Linked DNA regions of Homo sapiens: region 2 is linked to region 1. Evidence: promoter capture Hi-C in human tissues and cell types (Jung and others, 2019). All regions are on one chromosome and are shown on one strand. The core of a region is centred on a gene start or on the middle of the fragment in contact, and the rest is flanking DNA. Distances in the headings are between cores, read along the strand shown.

Evidence for each region. The method cuts DNA at HindIII sites, captures the fragments that hold promoters and counts their contacts. A contact is called where the count stands out against the background at its distance.
Region 2: a contact is called between a fragment that was not itself captured here and the fragment with the promoter of SLITRK2 in region 1, in 1 of the 25 tissues and cell types used here (small bowel).

Annotation. Positions count from the first base shown.
Region 1 is chrX:145,816,500-145,821,118 of GRCh38, forward strand. SLITRK2 (SLIT and NTRK like family member 2) reads left to right here and starts at 1,330. Exons shown (of 5, transcript NM_032539.5): 1 at 1,330-1,527; 2 at 3,975-4,037. The HindIII fragment of the contact is 9,514 bases long and covers 1-4,619 here.
Region 2 is chrX:146,237,213-146,241,836 of GRCh38, forward strand. No RefSeq gene overlaps it. Among named protein-coding and RNA genes, the nearest start is that of MIR891A, 210 kb to the left of the region's middle. The HindIII fragment of the contact is 3,426 bases long and covers 983-4,408 here.

The DNA.
Region 1 (4,619 bases), core at 80-2,579:
TTTCTTTTTAAAAAGCCCAGCATAATCTCCTTAGAAAACCATTATGAAAGAAAGCCAAGAAGAGAGGACAGGAGAAGCACAAAAGATTCCCACGGGAAGGACAAGAAAAAGGTGGTTGTCAGTGCTGTGAGAACGAGTTGAAAGGCATGGGAAATATGGAAACAGACAAATTCCAATGCAGATCCACTAGCTGGAGAGGTAATTTTGCGTCTAATTTTGCACCTCTCTCCTCGCCTCCCCGTCTGCTCTCCACCATCACGCTTTTCGACAGTAAGAAGGATTTGGGGTTTTGCAGACTCTAGCGGGCATGAAAAGGATAGGGGGTGGCAACGACTTGAATTAATGACGTTCTCCTACAGGATGGAGGGGAAAATGACTTAGTGTCATCAAATGAACTCCCTACTCCTGGCATAAATTTATCAAACTGCAACTTTATCTCGAATACTCTGGAAGAGTAGAGGAGAGGCCCTAGAGAAAGCAAGTCTTGAGGGGAAACGCAATGCTCTTGGCAAAAACCGCACCTCCCTCTTGAACTACACTGACTCTTTTCACAGAGCGCCTTCCTTTAATAGAATCACAACCACCTGGACTACTAATAAGAGGAAGAAGAAAGGAGAAAAGGGAAGGGAGGATGGCAAAAATCACGCTCTAGAAGATCCAGGCAACGTCGTCGTGAAGAATAAAGGGAATCAAAATGGGCACTGGAACGCTGCTAAGGGCTTGCTTTGTTAACACACTTGCACAACTCAAGTTCAGCTCTATCTTATGTTGAAAGTCCTTGTTTACGATCCTCGTAGGAGGTTCTTAAATATCTGCCTGCGAACTCCCAAAGACTGGGCGCTTACTAGTTAGGGGAGGCAGCTGTCCCGGAGGGTGTCCAGCTCGGATGGCTGACTGCTCTTTCACTTGTCGTTAACTTCCACCCAGTAGTCTTAGTCTCCCCTTGGACATGGTACCGACCGTGTGCCATTCTTATTTCACTTGACCGAGCCCGAGCTGCAGCCCAGGGTGGAAGCCGCAAGGGCTGGGCAGAGTTCCAGGCAAGAGGGACCGAGAGGCGTGAGCAGTGCTCCGCAGCGCTTGTCAGAGAAATGGAGCAGCGGCTCCTTTGTGGGCTCTTACATCCCCGTCCTGGGTGCACAGCCCGGATATTTGATCTGTGGGGTGATTGATAAGTGAGGGAGAGGGGGGACGCGATCCCTCCCTCCCTCCTCCCTCCCTCCTCCCTCCTCACTCCCTCCTCCCTCCTCCCTCCCTCCTCCCTCCTCCCTCCCTTCTTCCCCTCTCCTCCCTCCCGCTTTACTTCCCTCCTCCCTCTCGCCTCCCTCCCTCCTTCCTGCAAGAAGCGTTGCCCGTTGGCTAGCTGCTCGGTGGGGATCTGCCTGCCCTGGGGGCGCCGCCCGCGCTCCCCGCGGTGCTCTCGCTCCTGGGCTGCGCCAGTCCGAGGCGGTGCCGGCTCCTTTGCCTCCCCGAGTCGCAGATGCTGCGGGCGCCTCCGGGAAAAGATCTGGGCGGCGCGCTCGCTCGGTAAGTTCTGAGCACTCAGGGACGCGGTGGCGACGCGGCCAGTGAGCCGGCTTTCCTCAGTCCGTTGCCTTTCCCGGCCACCTCTCCTTGCGAGGGGCACCAGCGTGGGGAGGCTGGGCGCCATCCGCGGAGGGCAGCTCGCTGGCGGCCGCCCTCTACCCTCAATCCCCACTGGAGATTCCTCACCCCGGGACCGTCCGCGCGGGCGTGGTCGGGCTCCGCGCCTCGCGCAGCGGGGTGGCACAGGCGGCCAGGGAGGGCCCACGCACCCGGCGCGAGCTAGAAGCCTCCGGTCGGCCTGCAGTGCCCAAGTCCCATGGCGAGGGCAGCCCGAGTGGCCGTCGCGGCTGTAGGTCCGCATGCCGGGCACCGCACCAGGCGTCTAGCAGGTAGGGGCAGGGAAGGTAGGGCTGCGCTGGCGGCCGGTGCCCAGTTACCGGCGATCGGGGACGCTCGGAGACACCTGGTCTCCCGGAAGCGCCCTTCGGAAATGGGATTCGACCCGGCTTGCGGGCGGCGGGTGTTTAGAAGAAGAGGCTGCGGGCAAGCAGTGCCCCCTCTCTGGTTCCCCGGACTCCTCTTAGCCCCCTCGTGGCCTGATGGGCGGCCGGGACGGAGGTGGGCTGTAAGCCCGCCGGCACCCACCGTGTCCTGTGGAAGGCTTGGAGACCTGAGCCAGGCTCTACTCGGTTAGATGCGAGTGAGACAGGCGACGGAGTTCGTCTTTAAGCCTCCCTTGCCTCAGCAAGGAGAGGGAGCGTTTTCCTTATTTTAATGACCGCCTTTCCCTCCCTTGGGGTCCCAGTTCACCCTGAACCTTTCCACAGCCTTAAAAGCCCGCTCTCCCTAGCGGAGTGCTGCGGCAGTTCTTCAGAAGACACGGGGCCAAATGAAACTTACTTAAAGTGGTTATCGCGTTTCAGGCTGATTTGTTCCTAGTAACTACGTTTTGGAAAGCAGCTGTGGACTCTCAAGGACAGGCAGGAACGAAGACCTCCTTAGGGTCCGAGTGTCGCTTCCCACAGTTAGATTACCCATGAATTTCCTTGATTCTGTAGGTCTCAAGAATCTCATGAGCCCCCAACCACCTCCACCTTTCTCTCTGAATCTCTCTCCTGTCTCTGAAATTCTTCGCAAAAATAATCTGTCCTCAAGGAATATTGAAAGCGTCATCAATGTCTTGAAGGAAATTACTGTATCTGAGAACCGAAACTAGTATTTGATGTTTCACTTTCAAATACATTTTTTTTTAATAAAAAGGATACCTTTAAGTAAAACACTACCACTGCTATTTACGTTTAAGTAGATTTTTAATTCATATTAAGCAGTAGTGTGCTTTTTGGAAAGATGATGGACTGGGACTCATAATCCCTGGGTTTTGTTTCTATTTGTAGTTTCTTGAGTAAGTCAGCACTTTCCCTGGTTAAGAAATGACCTCATCTGTAAAATGAACCTGACTTCTAAGGTCTTGTTCGGCTCTCACGTCTTTACTTCAGTTAAATATTGACATAATACATGTTTGTTGAATGAATGACTGAATGAATAAATCTTATTGCTCTAGGAACTATGTGCTTTTAACCTTTGGAAATACATAGAAACAAATGCCTCCTTTGCTAGGAAAGGGAGCTTAATTGTGCTCCCACTGCATCAGACTGCTTCCATCTAATGATGCAATTGCAATACAGGGTGGGAGGCCATCCACAGGGCTGTCCCTCTGCCTCAGAGCTCATCTCAAGTTTGCCCTTCTCTATGGAGAAGGAAAATTTGAGTCTCCAGAAGGAAAGTATTTTGCTAAACGCCAAGCAAGAATTAGAGGGTAAGGGGGCTTCTGATGCCTGGTCCAAGGCTCTTAGAAGAAGAAGAAGGAGAAAGGGAGAAAGCTCAAGAAAATAATGCACAGATCACCAGCTACAGGTGGCCCTAGTGCCTAAGTTTATAAACTACCCCCGCCCTTCCCGGAGAGAAAGGAGCTTGTATAAAGGGAACAATCCTAGAACCTAGGCTTAACAAGGAAGGAGAAGGGGAGAAGCAAGGGTCATTCTGTTCTCAAGTGGTTTGTTGTATCTGTGTGTTTATCTATTCCACATTTGGCCAGGCAGTGGGACTCCGGGAAAGCAAGCTGAAGTGTTTTGTGGGACAGGCACATCATTTGGTCAACTCCTTTTCCCTGGTTGATTCCCTCCTTTTCCTGACCCATCTCCCCCTTCCTACCAGAGGCAACCAAGGCCTTTCCAGGCAACAGCAGACATTATTTACCCCTTGCGAATTGATTCCACAATGGAAGACTCTTGGGTCCAAGGAGCTGTAAGATAATTAAGGAGAAAACAGATAATGAAGGCAAAAATCCAACACCTGGCCATTAGCAATGCTCTGGAAAGGCTATTTAAACCCGCATTGGATATCAGAGCTGGGAGGGCCCATACAGTCTACCTACCTGCCTTTTGCAGATGGACACAGGAAGATCCAGAAGCTAGTGGCACATCTAGCAACAGAGCCAGATCAGAACCCAGGTAAGCTCGGTCTCAGGCCAGGATTCCTTTTCCATCTCCTCTCTTTCTCAGGAGCCAGTCTTCCTGCACCAGCTTCCTCTTTTCTCCTAGCTCCCCTGCCCCTGCAGCCTGGAGGGCTCAACCACCCTTCCTTTGGCTCCCACTCCCAGCTGAGGCTCAGCCTGGCAGTGCTTTTCTGACACCCACTTCTTTTCTCCTTCCTCCAGGCAAGAAGTGCACGTTTAAACCTCATTATCTGGCTAAGTATAAACCTCAGGGAGAAAAGGGGTTTGTTTTTGTTTTTCTCAGTCTATAAGCTAACATTGAGCTGACTTTCAGAGTCCAGGCAAATATGTTTGGTGGGTCACCACCCAGAAAGGAATTCTCTTAGCACTGAATCAGGGCTCTGTATGTAAAGTATAAATCCCCTAAGAGAACTCCTCACCCTCCTACACAGACACATTGGTGCATGCACACACACCCCACTCTCTGCACAGAGAGCATCTGAGCTAGGAGCTGGCAAGTGGGGCACCAGTCCTGTAGCAAAGAGGCACACCACACACACACACACACACACACACACACACTCTCTCTCTCTCTCTC
Region 2 (4,624 bases), core at 1,446-3,945, 420 kb after region 1:
AATGTGAAGTAGCTAAGCAATTAGCAGTTTAACTGGACAGCGTAGTTGAGGTTCCAAAGTAGATTTATTTAAATTGGGTGAACTATCTGGATAAGACTTGTCTACTGTCTGAAAGGCACACTATTTAGCTTATATTTTTTTAAAACCAGTGCTTTGGTTTTGCATTTGAAATCTGATGCTTATTTTGCATTGGTCCCTCTGCCTCAAGAAGCAGTGGCCTGTCAGGCTTACTGATATTTAAACATGTGGGAAATGCTCCCAGGTAACCCCAGTCGTTAAATCTGAAGGCTTGTTGGGTCCAGGGAGGCAGCCCAGGCAGGCAGCTGCATAATTGAGTACTGTTCTGGGTCTTTCATTTTATTTTAAAGCATATTTTTAACCACGTTCTTTCCAGTTAACCATCTCTCTGGTTATTATGAGGAGCTGATTTCTTCAGCACACAATAATTGCAAAATTATGACTCCATGGCTGTAGACATAAGTGTTGTCTTGCCTATCTGGCAAATCACGCAACAAGGGAATTTAGGATTTGGGAGGCACTTAGAAGTCATCTCATCTACAGCTCTGATTTTACAAATAAGGAAACCATTGGGCCAGTGTGCCTTTTTAAAATTCACAAGTATTGGTACTCACTTCTTTTTTAGTCTTATTCCTCCTCCTCATCTACAAGAATATTGGACTTTACTTTTCATAAAAATGTGATTTCCTACCAGTTTAATGCTCTTGGTGATAACTATGTAGTTTGGCTAGAGAATGGAATCTCGCGTCAGTGTGCTGGCAAGTTATTCGTTTAGCTATTCCTGAGGGGTCTCATTGCTGTTTCACAGTGATCTTCTTGAATGTAAGTTTGTTCAACAGTTATTCAGCTTCTTTTATTGGGCTGTTATTGTTCTCTCTGAGATGAGTAAGACATGTTCTCTACTTTGAAGAGCTCACTATTTGGGAAGGAGGGTGGACACTCTAAAATGTAACTGCAATTTAAAGTGGCAAGTATTTAAAAAGTGAAATAAATGTAGGGACAGAAATGAGGGAAGAATTAGTTCCACCTGAGATATGAGAGATTGACGGAGAGCGTGTGACATTTGAGTTGGCCCTGGGAGGAGAAGAGGGGTGTGGCAGGTACTTGAGTTTCAGAGGCTTGATGTGTGAGAAGACACTCTAGGCAGGGTAATGACTCAGTCACTCAAGCATACAAGAGCATGACACATTGAGAAAGTGCAAGAGCTATAGCTGAAGTTGAAGCTGTGTGGCTTCAAAGAGGGCTGGGTGGCAGCCCCAAAAATTCAAGTTGGAACAGAATTATTGAGAACCTTATATGGCAGCTGAAGGCATATGGGACTTGTCTTCTATTTATTATTCTATAGGTGGTAGCCATTGACGATGTGTGAGTGAGACACAGTTTAGAAAAACACCTTTTCAGCTTCAGTGTACAGGATGGATTGGATGCAGGGACATCCATGAAAAGACAACCATAAATACATAGTTATCCCTGACCACAGGAATGTAGCCTTACTTTTCTGTATGTGTCTGGCTTTAGTTGGCATTAAACCCTATCTAGAAGATACAGGATATCTATGTGAGTCTGCTTGGGCTGCCGTAACAAAACACCACATATTAGAGGGGTGGCCTAGACAACAGACATTTATTTTCTCTCATTTCTGGAGACTAGAATTCCCAGAAGGAGTCATTGGTTGATTCAGTTCCTAATAAGGCCTCTCTTCCTGGTTTATAGATGTTCTCACATGGCCTCTTCTTTGGTGCAGGTGCAGAGAAGGCGAGAGAGAGAGAGAGAGACAGAGAGAGAGAGAAAGAGAAAGAGAAAGAGAGAGGAGTGAAAGAAATCTCTAGTGTCCCTTCTTCTTCTTATAAAGACATGAGTTCTATTGTATTAACACCCCAGTCTTCTGATCTCATTTAACATAAACTATCTCCATAAAGATTCTATTTCCAAATACAGCCACATTGGGATTTGGGGCATCACATATGAGGTTTTTTTTGGAGGGGAGGGTGAGCACAATTCATTCCATAACAGCAGCTGAGCACCCTTTTTGTCCTGCATAGCAACAATGCACACAAAGTTGTAGAAAGAGCTTTAATGAATAGACACTCTACAATAACTATCATTTCTGCAGATTACAAATGAAATGCAAATATGCCATAGGAAGATTCTAGCTCTGTCCAGCGTCACTAACATGTTATCTTCTTGTTTTTCTTCTGGTAGAGGAAACAGAGACTCCTCCTGTGCCCAAGAGTTCAGAGCACTTGGATCACCTGCCATGCTAATATTTGATCCTGTACTTGGGAAATTTATCCCTCAGCTCTAGGTAACCATTACCTGGTCCTCTGAGCAATCTGTTCCTCTCAAATTCCACCATTGTCCTTCATGTTTTATTATCTTTTATCCTCTTCCCACAACAACCTCTGGACTTCTCCATTTCCCCAAGTCATAGTTTTTTTCCCTCTCCAATCTCCAGACCTTCCTATATGTTCTAAACCAACTTCTTTCATCTGAATGGTACACAGAGCAGGATCCTTCAGCCTCAGCTTTCTTTTTTGCAACCTGATATGGGCTGTGTACTGCGAATGCCGCATCATTTCCCGAACTTCACACCTGAGAGACTAACTGATTAAATGCTTGATGAATGGATGCTAGGAAACATGGCTAATGCCAGCAATGACTGGAACTAGAAATAGGAGTTGTTTATAGACTTTGTCTAGCTCTGTGTCAAATAGACATACTATAAAAATTTCAGCAGAATTTTAGAATTCTGGTTCTGCTTATCCAAAAAATTGTCTTGTGTATCATTTTAATACAAAATTATTCATTGGTCATTACTTACAGATAAGATGGTAATATATGTTGGACAAGCAGTGGTATTTTCACTTGGAAAATAAGATAAAAATACATATTTGTGAAAAAACATCAGGTACAAATGATAACATGCTGTATCTCCAGCCCTTATAACTAACAGTGGCCTGGATATTTGTAGAATTAATGCAAAGATGAGATGATATTTAACATTGATTAATTCAACAAAAATATATTTGTGTACACCTTAGTGTTAATGATTTGCTAAGGGCTGACGGGTCTAGCAGGGGTAAAACCTGCTCGCATGCCCATTTTCCTAGAATACCCCTCGTCTACACCAGGTACTTATGATCTTTGACGCTACAGTTTTGTGAGGGATCCACAGAGGAAGGCAGATAAATTAGCCTAATCCAGAGACAAACTTTGTAAAGAACCATATAGTCCATATTTTAGGCCTTTTGATCTCTCTAGTCTTTGTTGCAAACCCTCAACTCTGCCTTTGTAGCATGAAAAGAAAGCAATAGACAATATGTAAATGAGTGGGTATGGCCATGTTCCAATAAAACTGTATTTATTTATTTAATTAATTTATAATTTCAACTTTTCTTTTAGATTCAGAGGTTATATGTGCAGGTCTGTTACATGGGTATATTGTGTGATGCTGGCGTTTGGGGTATGACTTATCCCATCACCCAGGTAGTCAGCATAGTTTTTCAACCCTTGCCCTCCTCCCTCCCTATCCCCTTTAATAGTCCCCGGTGTTTATTGTTCCCATCGTTGTGTCCATGTATAATCAATATCTAGTTCCCACTTATAAGTGAGAACATGCAGTGTTTGGTCTTCTGTTTCTGCATTAATTCACTTAGGATAATGGCCTCCAGCTGCCTTCTTGTTGCTGCAAATGACATGATTTCATTCCTTTTTATTGCTGTGTAGTGTTCCATGATGTATATGTACCACGTTTTCTTAATCCATCCTCCACTGATGGACACCAAGGTGGATTCCATATCTTTACTATGGTTAACAGTGCTGTGATGAACACATGCATGCATGTGGCATTTTGTAAAATGACTTATTTTCCTTTGGTTATATACCCAGTAATGGGATTTCTGAGCAATAAAGCTTTATTGACAAAAACATTTAGGCTAGATTAGGCCCATGGCCTGTTTGCCAGTCTCTGGAATTAATATGGGAGCTACTGGGGTGAAAGTCAGGTCACCTTCATACACAAAAAAATTGTAGAATTTGGGAACTGAATGGACTCTACAGACATTGCTCTTTGTTGTTCTCAGATAGCAAAATCCCAACCCTGGTAAATCCAGCCCTACTTATCTATTGCAGTATGTGAACACAAATTGAGAAAAGCAAAGGATCATGCTGACAGATTTCCATTTAAATTCAAGTGAGTCCTTAGCGCTACCCAGAAATCCTACTTATTTACCTGACATACTCATTATCCCTCTCCCCCAGAAGTCTTTTCTATGTCTTACCTTTCTCACCTGGACTCCATCACCTCTGTTGCAGCAATAAAGGTGTGTACCTGAATGTCCCCACGGAAAAAATCTGCAATTCAGCTGCAGGGAGTGCAACTAACTGACAGCCTACAACCATTAGCTCCTTGAGGAAATGCCTCAGCTTTCCAGGTGGGGCCACACGCTTCCTATGTAATCATTAGCCGATGACTGGATACACTGGAGGTGCAAGGACCTGGCCATTTTGGCCAAGGTGGAACTCCTCTAAATTTTTCTCTTTGCCCTGGAGAACTGTTTTGGGTTGCCAAAAATTTTTCAAATCTTATCACTGCCTGAGGTTTTCC